Linked DNA regions of Homo sapiens: region 2 is linked to region 1. Evidence: promoter capture Hi-C in human tissues and cell types (Jung and others, 2019). All regions are on one chromosome and are shown on one strand. Each heading gives the region's core, a stretch centred on a gene start or on the middle of the fragment in contact. The rest is flanking DNA. Distances are from core to core; before and after follow the strand shown.

Evidence for each region. The method cuts DNA at HindIII sites, captures the fragments that hold promoters and counts their contacts. A contact is called where the count stands out against the background at its distance.
Region 2: a fragment that was not itself captured here is called in contact with the fragment with the promoter of SSTR1 in region 1 in 2 of the 25 tissues and cell types used here (heart right ventricle and small bowel).

Annotation. Positions count from the first base shown.
Region 1 is chr14:38,206,463-38,211,676 of GRCh38, reverse strand. It overlaps SSTR1 (somatostatin receptor 1), which reads right to left and starts at 3,773. Exons shown (of 3, transcript NM_001049.3): 1 at 3,573-3,773; 2 at 3,068-3,234; 3 at 1-2,631. The coding sequence starts at 2,287. The coding sequence ends at 1,112. It overlaps LOC124903303 (a long non-coding RNA gene), which reads left to right and starts at 2,390. Exons shown (of 2, transcript XR_007064117.1): 1 at 2,390-2,595; 2 at 3,401-4,462. RefSeq lists enhancers at 920-1,622, 1,623-2,326, 3,310-3,971. The HindIII fragment of the contact is 11,122 bases long and covers 1-4,771 here.
Region 2 is chr14:38,101,429-38,107,015 of GRCh38, reverse strand. No RefSeq gene overlaps it. Among named protein-coding and RNA genes, the nearest start is that of SSTR1, 100 kb to the left of the region's middle. The HindIII fragment of the contact is 3,749 bases long and covers 360-4,108 here.

The DNA of each region.
Region 1 (5,214 bases), core at 2,524-5,023:
CCCTAGGTCCCCCGCCCCTGGCGCCCGGTCTTTTGAGATACACTGGAGCAGGAAACCTTATCTATTGTTACTTTTAGGTCGGCTCCTCCGGAAACTTGGGTGAGGGAGAAAGCCAAGGCGGGCTGCAGCCCTGCAACCGAACCCCGAACCCCGAACCCCGGGGAAGGTGTGCCCTGCACTACCCTGCCCTGCCTAACGCAGACGCGCGGCCCGGGAGCGCCCAGCGCTTGGTCTTTGAAAACGCGCAGTAGGAGGGTGATTCCTATTACGCGCCCACACTCCGACCCCGCAATCTTATAAAAACTCCTCATTCGGCTTGTTCTCAGCTCCTTCTTTGCTCCAAAGGAGGGCTTGGGTGGGAACTCCAGAAAGCCTGGAGTTCGAAGCGCGGGACCTATTTTACTAAGCACCTGGCTCTACTCTGGGTGGAGTGAGAGTGGTGGTGGCGGGCGGGCGGCGAGAGGGGGACAGGGGAGGGCAGGGAAAGATGCACCTTCACCCAAGAGTAGGAGAAAAGACCAGCTGCTTAGATCTTTCTCAAGTCCAACTTTCCTTAAGGTAGGGCTGCGCAAAGGGAGAGCGGTCATTCCCGGGACTCCAGTAGGGGCACCAGACAGAACCTGGACAGCGGCCCCGCGCGGCTAGGGACTAACGCCGAGGGAAACCCGTGGCGGTATCCGTGGCTCAGCTTAAACAAACAGAAATAACGACTGGAGGGGCTGAGGATCAGAATGAGTTGTTAATGAGTTCGTGATCTGCACTGGCGGGACGGTGCGGAAGAAAGGATAGAAGTTGCAGGGTAGGGAAAATAGAAGGAGGGTCAGAGGAGTAAGCGCAGTGGAGGAAGGAACAGAAAGTGGGAGACCCAGAAAAAGGTAGCCTGAAAGCCTTCCCAGTTTATAAGCAAAGCTCTCACTTCTACCATTGTCGCGCGCCTTTCTTGGGTTCCTCCATCAAAGGCTGTCAGTGTCCTAGCCCCACGTTATCCCGACAGCACCCTGGCGCCCTGGATACCGTCCCTTTCGCACCCGGCCTTCCCTTCTCATTCTCCCCCTCTTTTGGCTCAGGGCCCCTGCGTGGCCCGGGCTCAGAGCCCCTGCGTGGCCCGGGCTCAGAGCGTCGTGATCCGGGACGTGCAGGTGCCATTACGGAAGACGCCGCCGGACTCCAGGTTCTCAGGTTGGAAGTCTTCCACACTGTAGGCACGGCTCTTGAGCGCGGTGGCGTAATAGTCAACCGGCTCCTCCGCGGCGTTGTCCATCCAGCTGAGGCATAGGATGCGTTGGAAAGAGCGCTTGAAGTTGTCTGAGAGAAAGCCATAGAGGATGGGGTTGGCGCAGCTGTTGGCATAGCCGAGGATGACCGACAGCTGACTCACCGTGGCGTCGTCCTGCTCAGCAAACACGTTGACCAGCTGCACCACGTAGAAAGGCATCCAGCAGATGACAAACACCATCACCACCATCATCACCATTAAGGTGATCTTGCGCTCCGAGCGCTTGCGCTGCTGCCAGCCGGCCTTGAGGGCCACCATGCGCATCTTAGCAATGATGAGCACGTAGCACAGGCAGATAGCCCCCACGGGCAGCAGGAAGCCCATGAGAAATGTGTACAACACGAAGCCCACCAGCCAGCGTTGAGCGGGCTCTGGCATGAGCATGTTGCAAGCCACCGTGCCGTCGCTGTTGGCCGCGGTGCGAGAGAAGACCACGATGGGCAGGATGACGAGCAGCGATAGCACCCACACGCCCAGGTTTACTACCTTGGCCACGGTGGGCCGGCGGTAGCGGGCCGCCTTGATGGGATGCACCACGGCCACGTAGCGGTCCACGCTGAGCACAGTCAGACAGTAGATGCTGGTGAACATGTTGACCGCGTCCACGCTGAGCACGAGGCGGCAGAGCAGCGCACCGAAGGGCCAGTGGCGCAACAACGTGGAGGTGACTAGGAAGGGCACGCTGAGCATGAGCAGCTCATCAGCAATGGCCAGATTTAGGATGTAGATGTTGGTGGCCGTCTTCATCTTGGCATAGCGCAGGATCACGTAGATGACCATAGAGTTCCCACACAGCCCCACCAGGCACACCACGGAGTAGATGAAAGAGATCAGGATGGCGCTGCCCTGGCCCTCGCTCAAGGTCCCGTTCTGGGACGCATTTCGCCCTGGCTCCTCCATGCCGTCCGCAGCGCCGGCCCCGGGGCCCCTGCTGCCGCCGCCTTCGCCGCAGCTGCCCGGGCTGGGGCTAGGAGAGGAGGAAGGAGAGGAGGCGGTGCCATTGGGGAACATCCCAGCTGAGGGGGGCCAGTGGGGCTGCCAGGGCTGGGGCTTTCTCCTCGCGCACCCGCCGCCTGCGCCCTCCCTCCCCACCCGACCGCTTGCCTGCAGCCCACAGCCGCCCAGCGCCTCCGGGTAGAGCGCAACCGCTGCGGGGAGCGCGGCTCCTACCGGCGCCGGCGGGGCGCACAGCCCAGCGGTTGCCTGGGCTCTGCAGTTTGCAGCTCCGGGGTGCCCGGGCACAGGCGACCGTGGAGAGGAGAGGCCAGGATGTGGGAGCACCGCACGGCACAGCCATTAACTGGCGCGGCTCTGGACTGGTAAATGATTAATAGGCACCACCAGCGCGTCAGCAGCTACGAAAAAAGGGGGTGGGGTGGAGAAAGGGAGGAGAGCACATAGGTGGCTTGTCCCCCCCGCCCCCCATTTTTTTCCTTCCCAGTCCTGCACTCTGCTCAACTTTAGTGGCTCCTTCCGGGGTTCCCTCGCAGCACCATCTGCCTCTTGCTCTCAGAGGAACCAAGAGAGTTCCTCGGCCTTACTGGAGGGCGGGTGGGAACCAAAGGTATAGATTCTGTCTCATTCCACTCCTCTCCTACCCAAAGCAAAGACTCAAACGGATCCATGAACATGGATGTCTGGAGTTCATCTCAGTTTCCCTCCATTGCTGCCCTTTTCTCTGGAGACCCCAGCTTCTCTCCCGTCCCGCAGTCCAGAACCCTAAATTCCCTCTTCCCACCCTCGCTTGCCTTGCAGCTCAGACCCGCCAGGGAAGTTCCGGGCCCTCCTTACCCAAAGTGCGCAACCTCCAGACTGAGACGTAGATGGTCGGTGCAAAGTGCATGTGCGGTCTGTTAGCAGGTTGACGATCTTCGCGCAGACCAACTCCCTTCTTTGCGCCTGGCCCCAGCACAGGTGCCCACGCAATTACTCTTAGAATCGCGGAAACTGGCCCTAAGCTGCGAGCGTTATGAGAAGAAAGGACAACCACCGTGCGTTAGGGGCTTCTGCGCTATAACACAGCAGGCAGCTTAGGCTATTGGGAGTGTTCAGGGACCTGAGTGAACCATTCGCAAATCTCTTAATAAAGCTCGTAGCGCTCAGAGCCCCCCGTGTCTCCCACAGGAATATCGACTGCAGAAACGAGGACGCGCAGCTGGGAGCTCTGGAGGAGCTTGAGACTCCCTCCAGAAACGTGCCAGGCGCGGTGTTGGGAATCCACCTAGGTGTTCACTCGGGAAAGATAAGGCTGCGCCGCTTGGAAGGGCTCCACCCGCGTCCCTGCTGTACTTTGTACCCTGGAGAGTTGGCGGGTTCTGGCAGACGAGAGTTTAAAGGCTTGGGCGGGCGGGGACGCCAGCTCTTCTAAATCCAGGTGAGGAGCTGCCGCCGTGCGATGACCAGACCTGTCACCAACCCCAGGAACGGCAGGGCGACATTCGAGTTTTTCCGGGAAGAGCTAGGATGTCAGCTCTTTCTGAGGCTTGATTTGTGAGCTGGCTCTGGGTCACGTGCCCAAACCATTAGGAGATATCAATGTAGGCAAGCCTGAAGCTCACTGACTTCATTTAAGAATCAAAACGGTTTTCCCGTAAGAAAGAATGTATGTTCCGTTATCAGGATTTTAAACGAACCCTGGGACTTACCACCATTCTTACTCTAGGGTCTCTTTGGCTTTCCAACTGTTCCTGTGGAAGGAAGAATCACACTCCATGCAACTTCCCTGTTCCTTTTCATAAACGTTGCTTTGCTCGGTAAGATCCCTGCAAGCCTTTATTTGAAACTAGCCTGTTCACAGGAAGAGTGACCCGCAGCAGCTTAGTGCTCTGCCTCCTTCAAGCTTTGCTGTCTCCAGTTTTTCCTTAGTTTCTCCTTCTCCTCAACCAGGCTGTGCCCGCTGTACTGTAAGTCTCAGTTTTCCTCCTCTCAGTAGAGTTTACTCCAAGGAGAGGCTAAACTCCTCATGGAGGCTATCTGTACCGGTCCAGAATGAAGAAATGGATGCAGAAATTAAAAACAAAAAAGTATATTTCCTAATGCCCTGTTGCTTTATCCAGGTAATCACTTACATATACTGCATGTGTTTTAGTTCCCAAAACTAATTGTCTTGAACAGGAAAGAATAACTTCTGTAGTGTGTTGATGATAGCAATCAAAGACTAAAATAAATGACAGACTTTCATAGGAATGTGTGCAATTATTAATGAGGAATGTGCTAGGATGGAATTTGAAATTTCATACGGCTGAAACTGTTTTAACCCATTATTTTACCTGAACAAATTGCCTTCTTTAAAGTGGAATGTACAATTGGTGTTTAGTTATATTTATTTTTCCTTTACAAATACAGCACATATGGAGAGAAAATAAATGTTCATTAAGTTAAAAGAAAAGAGAGTGGGTATTGTCCCAGAATCCCAGAAGAGCATTTTACTAGCCAAGCCTCATATAATGCCTTAGATGCCTCTGCCAATCACTGACTAAAGACACCTGACTATCTGTACCTCTGGGAGCTTGGATTTCAACAGTCATTATTTAGATGCCTTGGCTTTGATCATGGTTGCTCTTTGGGAAGTGTGTGATGGGAGTCAGTGAAAAACAGCTCTGTTGTTCAGAATTTCATTAAATTCACTTTCAGCTCATCTTAGGGAAAATTTCTCTCAATTTTGTGGCCTCATATACAAAAGAAGAAAACTTAAGACCTGACGTGAGAATGCTTTTTATTTTTATTTTTTTGAGATGCCACTTTTCACCCACTAGGATGGCTATAAGAACATTTTTAAAAACAAAAAATAAACGTTAGTGAGAATGTGGAGAAATTAGAACACTCATACATTGCTGGTGGGAATAAAAAATGATGCAGCAACTTCAGAAAAAAATTTTGGCAATTGCTTAAAAAGTTTAAAAGTTTAAAAGAATGACCATATGAGCCAGCAATTCCAC
Region 2 (5,587 bases), core at 985-3,484, 100 kb after region 1:
GTCCAAAGATAAGCAACATCGCAATAGCCACCAAGGGTCCCAAGAAGGGGAGAAGCCAGGACATCCATTGGTTGACAATACTCCAAGATCCTGTGTCTTGGAGCTCTTGTGCCCAGCGCTGTATCCGGTCTCAAAGCTCCTTAACTTTCCCAGTGACAATTTCGAATTGATTAACGAAATAGCAGCATTTTCTCCTAGAAAAAGATAAGTTCCACTTCTTTCGGCTGTTAATAAATCTAATGCTCTCCGATTTTGAAGGGTTACTGCTGCTAAAGAGTTAAGCTGGCTTTGTAAGGTGACCAGCAAATCTGCGACTCATTCCATATCATCATTTAACTCTTGTGATAATTTGTAATAGAACTGGGGGGGAGGTGGTAATGCCTCCAATGCTGGTTCCTAGTCCTCCTAGTATCCCAGCCCTGATAATGAATGGCAGAACTTGTGCCCATTTGTAGAAGATTTGGGTAGAAGAAAATTCTGTAACTCCTGATCAGTATAGATAGTCATAGGGGGCTCCAAAAAGGAGAGAAAGCATAGACTTTTGAAGAAACCGTTTAAGCAGCGGTAAGCTGAGGAACCACAAAAAAAAAGATTCCTGATGGTAAGCAAGAGAGTCGTGGAGGTAGGGTAATTCATGTTTTGCACTGGAAGGCAGCTGCATCAATGGTTGTGCTAAACTTTACACACGTGAGATTTGGTGTATGTGTTATTTCTAGATTTGAGACTAAAGGGCCCACCAAGCCTGTGGTGTTTGTTCTTAGTTTGGTGGCATTCCAATGTTCGGGAACAGGAACTGGGACATATGGTTTAAAGCGTAAGGGGAGGCACATCCAGCAGTCAGTTGGATTCTGGCTGGAGGCCTTGTGAATTTCGGTAAGGGTGACATTAAATAAATTTAGCAAGCAGGAGTGAGTGACTAGTCCCTGTGCTTTTAGGTCTTTGACGATCTTTTGTAACCCTTGTTGGGCTTCTGGTCTGAGGGGGTACTGCCTTTGATAAGGAAAGGAGGTAGGATCTTTTAATTTAACTTGAACTGGATAAGCATTTTTTTGCTAGTCCGTATTGTCCTTCCTCTGCTCAGACTTCAGGATTAACTTCCTCATGGAGTAGAGGGCACAAACAGGTATTCCTTCTCCTATATTTAAGTATATAATGACCCCTGCTTTAGCTAATATGTCCCTCCCTAGTAAGGAAGTAGGGCTCTCAGGCATAATAAGAAAGGCATGTGAGAAAAATAAGGTTCCCCAGTCACAACTTAGGGGGTGGGAGAAATACCTAGTGACTGGCTGTCCTAGGACCCCTTTGATGGTGACAGATCTGGAGGACAGTTGTCCAGGACAGAAGAGTAAAACTGAGAAGGCCTCACCAGTGTCCAGGAGGAAGTTAGTTTCCTGACCTTCAATGGTTAAGCTTACCCGAGGCTCTGTGAGGGTGATGGCATGGGCTGGCACCTGCCCCAGGCACCCTCAGTCCTGTTGTTGGCCCATCTGGTTAGTGGCCTCTGGCTCAGAGGACCTTCACCCTTGGGGGCAGTGTGCATTCCAGTGATTCCCCCTGGCACAAGCGACATGGATGAGGGTGCGACTTATTGTTGTTTGGGCAGTCCTTTTTGAAGTACCCCTGTGAGCCGCACTGATATCAAGTCCTGTTAGGTGGGTTGCCTGCCCAGCCCTTCTTTCTTTCAGAGTCACCAAAGTTCATCTGCCTGAGGGCCGTGACTAAGGCAATGGCCTTTCTCTTGTCTCGTCTATCTCGTTCAACCTGCTTCTCCTGATCCCTATTATAAAACACCAAAGCTGCCAAATTCAATAGAGTTTCCAAATTTTTCTCAGCACACGAGTCAGACTTCTGAAGTTTTTTTTAGGGTAGGCAGCGGCAAATTGGAGGACCAAGGTTGGAACAGTGCTTTTCGTACCCAAATTTTCTGTCCCCTATTTGCCCTCCTGAGAATATTCATTGACCTTTGGACTTGAATCGGGGGAGCTATTGTCTATTATATTGTTTTTGGCACATAAGTCTGACTGCTTAAAGTGGAGAAGTTCTACAGTTCTGATTGCTGATCCCAGACAGGAAAGGTGGTAATTAAAGTAGCCTCTGCAATCTGGAGTAAGTTTATGGCAACAAAAGGAAAAATGTCCTAGGCCTTCTATCAGCCACTGACATGCCTTTTGATGTCCCACGTAGTGCCTAGGGTATAGGTTATGAGGGACAGGTCCTGTATAAGTATATTGATACCAATTTGCATAAGAATAAGCCTGGGGGCACCATGGGCAAGGGTCTTTGGATTGTCACCCCACTCGACTTAGGCTCCTAGCCAAAATATTCTTAGACTCAGAGGTAGGAAAGATCCTAGAGGATAGGGCCTGAAGAAAGTCTTCTCTGAGGACGTTAGGACCCAGGAGGCGTGGGTCAGAATAGGCAGGGAATGCACACATGGGTGGCTGTGGAGTAGAAGCTTCTTGCTGTGCCATGATCTCGACCAGGTCAGTGCCAAGAGTTCAGGATGACAGTTTTCCACCTCTAGCCAGCCCTCAGCTTTTCCCAGGAAAGGTAGAGAAAGGTGGAACTGGTTCCAGGCAAACCAATGCTCCCAGACCAGAGGGCTGGGGGTTGTTAGAGAGCCCTTTCCCAGAAACCCTCAAACCCGTCTTAAGTCTGGCAGCCACACTTGTTGCTTTTAAATGGCTGACAGGCGCCCTGTGTTTTCCTCCAATTTCTAGTGAGAAGATAGAAAGAATAGCAAGAGAAAGGGGTCCAATGTTACTCACCACTTTGGAGAAATCCCAGATGGGCTCCCAGAAAGGAGACGAGAAGTCTTCTTCCATCAAAGGTTTTTCTCGATCAAGAGGTTCGTGGTCTCATGGGCTTCAAGGAATGAAGCTGTGGGCCACAGTGGCAAGTGTTACAGCTCGAGTAGAGAAATGCACAGACCCAAAAAGTGTACAGCTGCAAGATTTATTAAAGCAAAGGCAAAAGTAAAGTAAAAATGAAAGTAAAGCTTCCATGCAGTGGATGGGAACCCAGAAGGGTTGCCCAGAGCGTCTTGTCTTGATGTTGATGGCTGCTCACTGATCGGGGTAGTGGTTGTTGCTGAATATTGGGATGGCTGTGGCAATTTCTTATCATAAGGCATCAATAAAATTTGACACATCAATTGACTTAACCTTTCAGGAAAGGTTTCTCTGTTGCATGTGACACTGTTTGATAGCATTTTACCCACAATAGAACTTCTTTCAAATTTGGAATCTATCTTCTGAAACCCTGTTTCTGCTTTATCAGCTAATTTTATGGAATATTCTAAATCCTTTGTTGTCATTTCAACAATATTCACAGCATCTTCACCAGGAAAAATTCCATCTCAAGAAACTACTTTCTTTGCTCATAGCAAGAAAGCAACTCTTCATTCATTCAAGTTTTATCATGAGATTGAAGCAATTCTGACACATATTCAGGCTCCACTTCTAATTCTGGTCCTCTTGCTATTTCCACCACTCTGCAGTTACTTTCTCCATTGAAGTCTTGAATGCCTTCATGTCATCCATTAGGGCTGAAACCAACTTTTTCAAAACTTTTTTTTTTTTTACTATACTTTAACTTTTAGGGTACATGTGCACAACGTGCAGGTTAGTTACATATGTATACATGCGCATGTTGGTGTGCTGCACCCATCAACTCGTCATTTAACATTAGGAATATCTCCTAATGCTATCCCTCCCTGCTCCCCGCACCCCACAACAGTCCCCGGTGTGCGATGTTCCCCTTCCTGTGTCCATGTGTTCTCATTGTTCAACTCCCACCTATGAGTGAGAACATGTGGTGTTTGGTTTTTTGTCCTTGCAATAGTATGCTGAGAATGATGGTTTCCAGCTTCATCCATGTCCCTACAAAGGACATGAACTCATCCTTTTTTATGGCTGCATAATATTCCATGGTGTATATGTGCCACATTTTCTTAATCCAGTCTATCATTTATGGACATTTGGGTTGGTTCCAGGTCTTTGCTATTGTGAATAGTGCCGCAATAAACATACGTGTGCATGTGTCTTTATAGCAGCATGATTTATAATCCTTTGGGTATATACCCAGTAATGAGATGGCTGGGTCAGATGGTATTTCTAGTTCCAGATCCCTGAGGAATAGCCACACTGACTTTCACAATGGTTGAACTAGTTTACAGTCCCACCAACAGTGTAAAAGTGTTCCTATTTCTCCACCTCCTCTCCAGCACCTTTTGTTTCCTGACTTTTTAATGATTGCCATTCTAACTGGTGTGAGATGGTATCTCATTGTGGTTTTGATTTGCATTTCTCTGATGGCCAGTGATGATGAGCATTTTTTCATGTGTCTTTTGGCTGCATAAATGTCTTCTTTTGAGAAGTGTCTGTTCATATCCTTTGCCCACTTTTTGATGGGGCTGTTGGTTTTTTTCTTGTAGATTTGTTTGAGTTCATTCTAGATTCTGGATATTAGCCCTTCGTCAGATGAGTAGATTGCAAAAATTTTCTCCCATTCTGTAGGTTGCCTGTTCACTCTGATGGTAGTTTCTTTTGCTGTGCAGAAGCTCTTTAGTTTAATTAGATCCCGTTTGTCAATTTTGGCTTTTGTTGCCATTGCTTTTGGTGTTTTCGACATGAAGTCCTTGCCAAACTTCTATTAAGGTTGACATTTTGACCTCCTCTCATAAATCATGAACATTCTCAATGGCATTTAGAATGATTAATCCTTTCCAGAAGGTTTTCAATTTACTTTTCCTATATCTATCAGAGGAACTACTATTTATGGCAGCTGTAGCCTTATAAAATGTATTTCTTAAATAATAAAACTTGAAAGTCAAAATTACTCCTTGAATCCATGGGCTGCAGAATGGATATTGTGTTCGGAGGCATGAAAACAAGATAAATTTCCTTGTACATCTCCATCAGAGATCCTGGGGGACAAGGTGCATTGTCAGTGAGCAGTAATATTTTGAAAGGAATTATTTTTTTTTCTGAGCAGCAGGTCTCAACAAGGGACTTAAAATAATCAGTTAACCATGCTCCTAACATATGTGCTGTCATCCAGGCTTTGTCACGCTATTGATAGAGCACAGCAGAGTAGATTTAGCATAATTGTTAAGGGTCCTAAGGTTAGCAGAATGGTAAATAAGCCTTGGCTCACTTAAACTTAAAGTCACTAGCTGCATTATCCCCTAAGAAGAGAGTCAGCCTGTCCTTTGAAGCTTTGAAGGCTTGCATTGACATCTCCTCTCTAGCTATGAACATCCTAGATGGCATCTTCTTCTAATAGAATGCTATTATGCTGTTTTGTTTACATTGAACATCCATTGTTTATTGTAGCTAACTGCATCTATTACTTTAGCTAGATCTTCTGGTTAACTTGCTGCAGCTACAACATCAGCACTGGCTACTTCACCTTTCACTTTTATGTTATGGAGATGACTTCTGTCCTTAAACTTAACAAACCAACCTCTGCTGTCTTCCAACTTTTCTTCTGCAACTTCCTCAACTTTCCTTCTGAAGGTTGCTCAAATAAATTACAGCCTTGGCTACTTCTCTTTTTAAATTCCTTTGGCTTCTCATTCAAATGC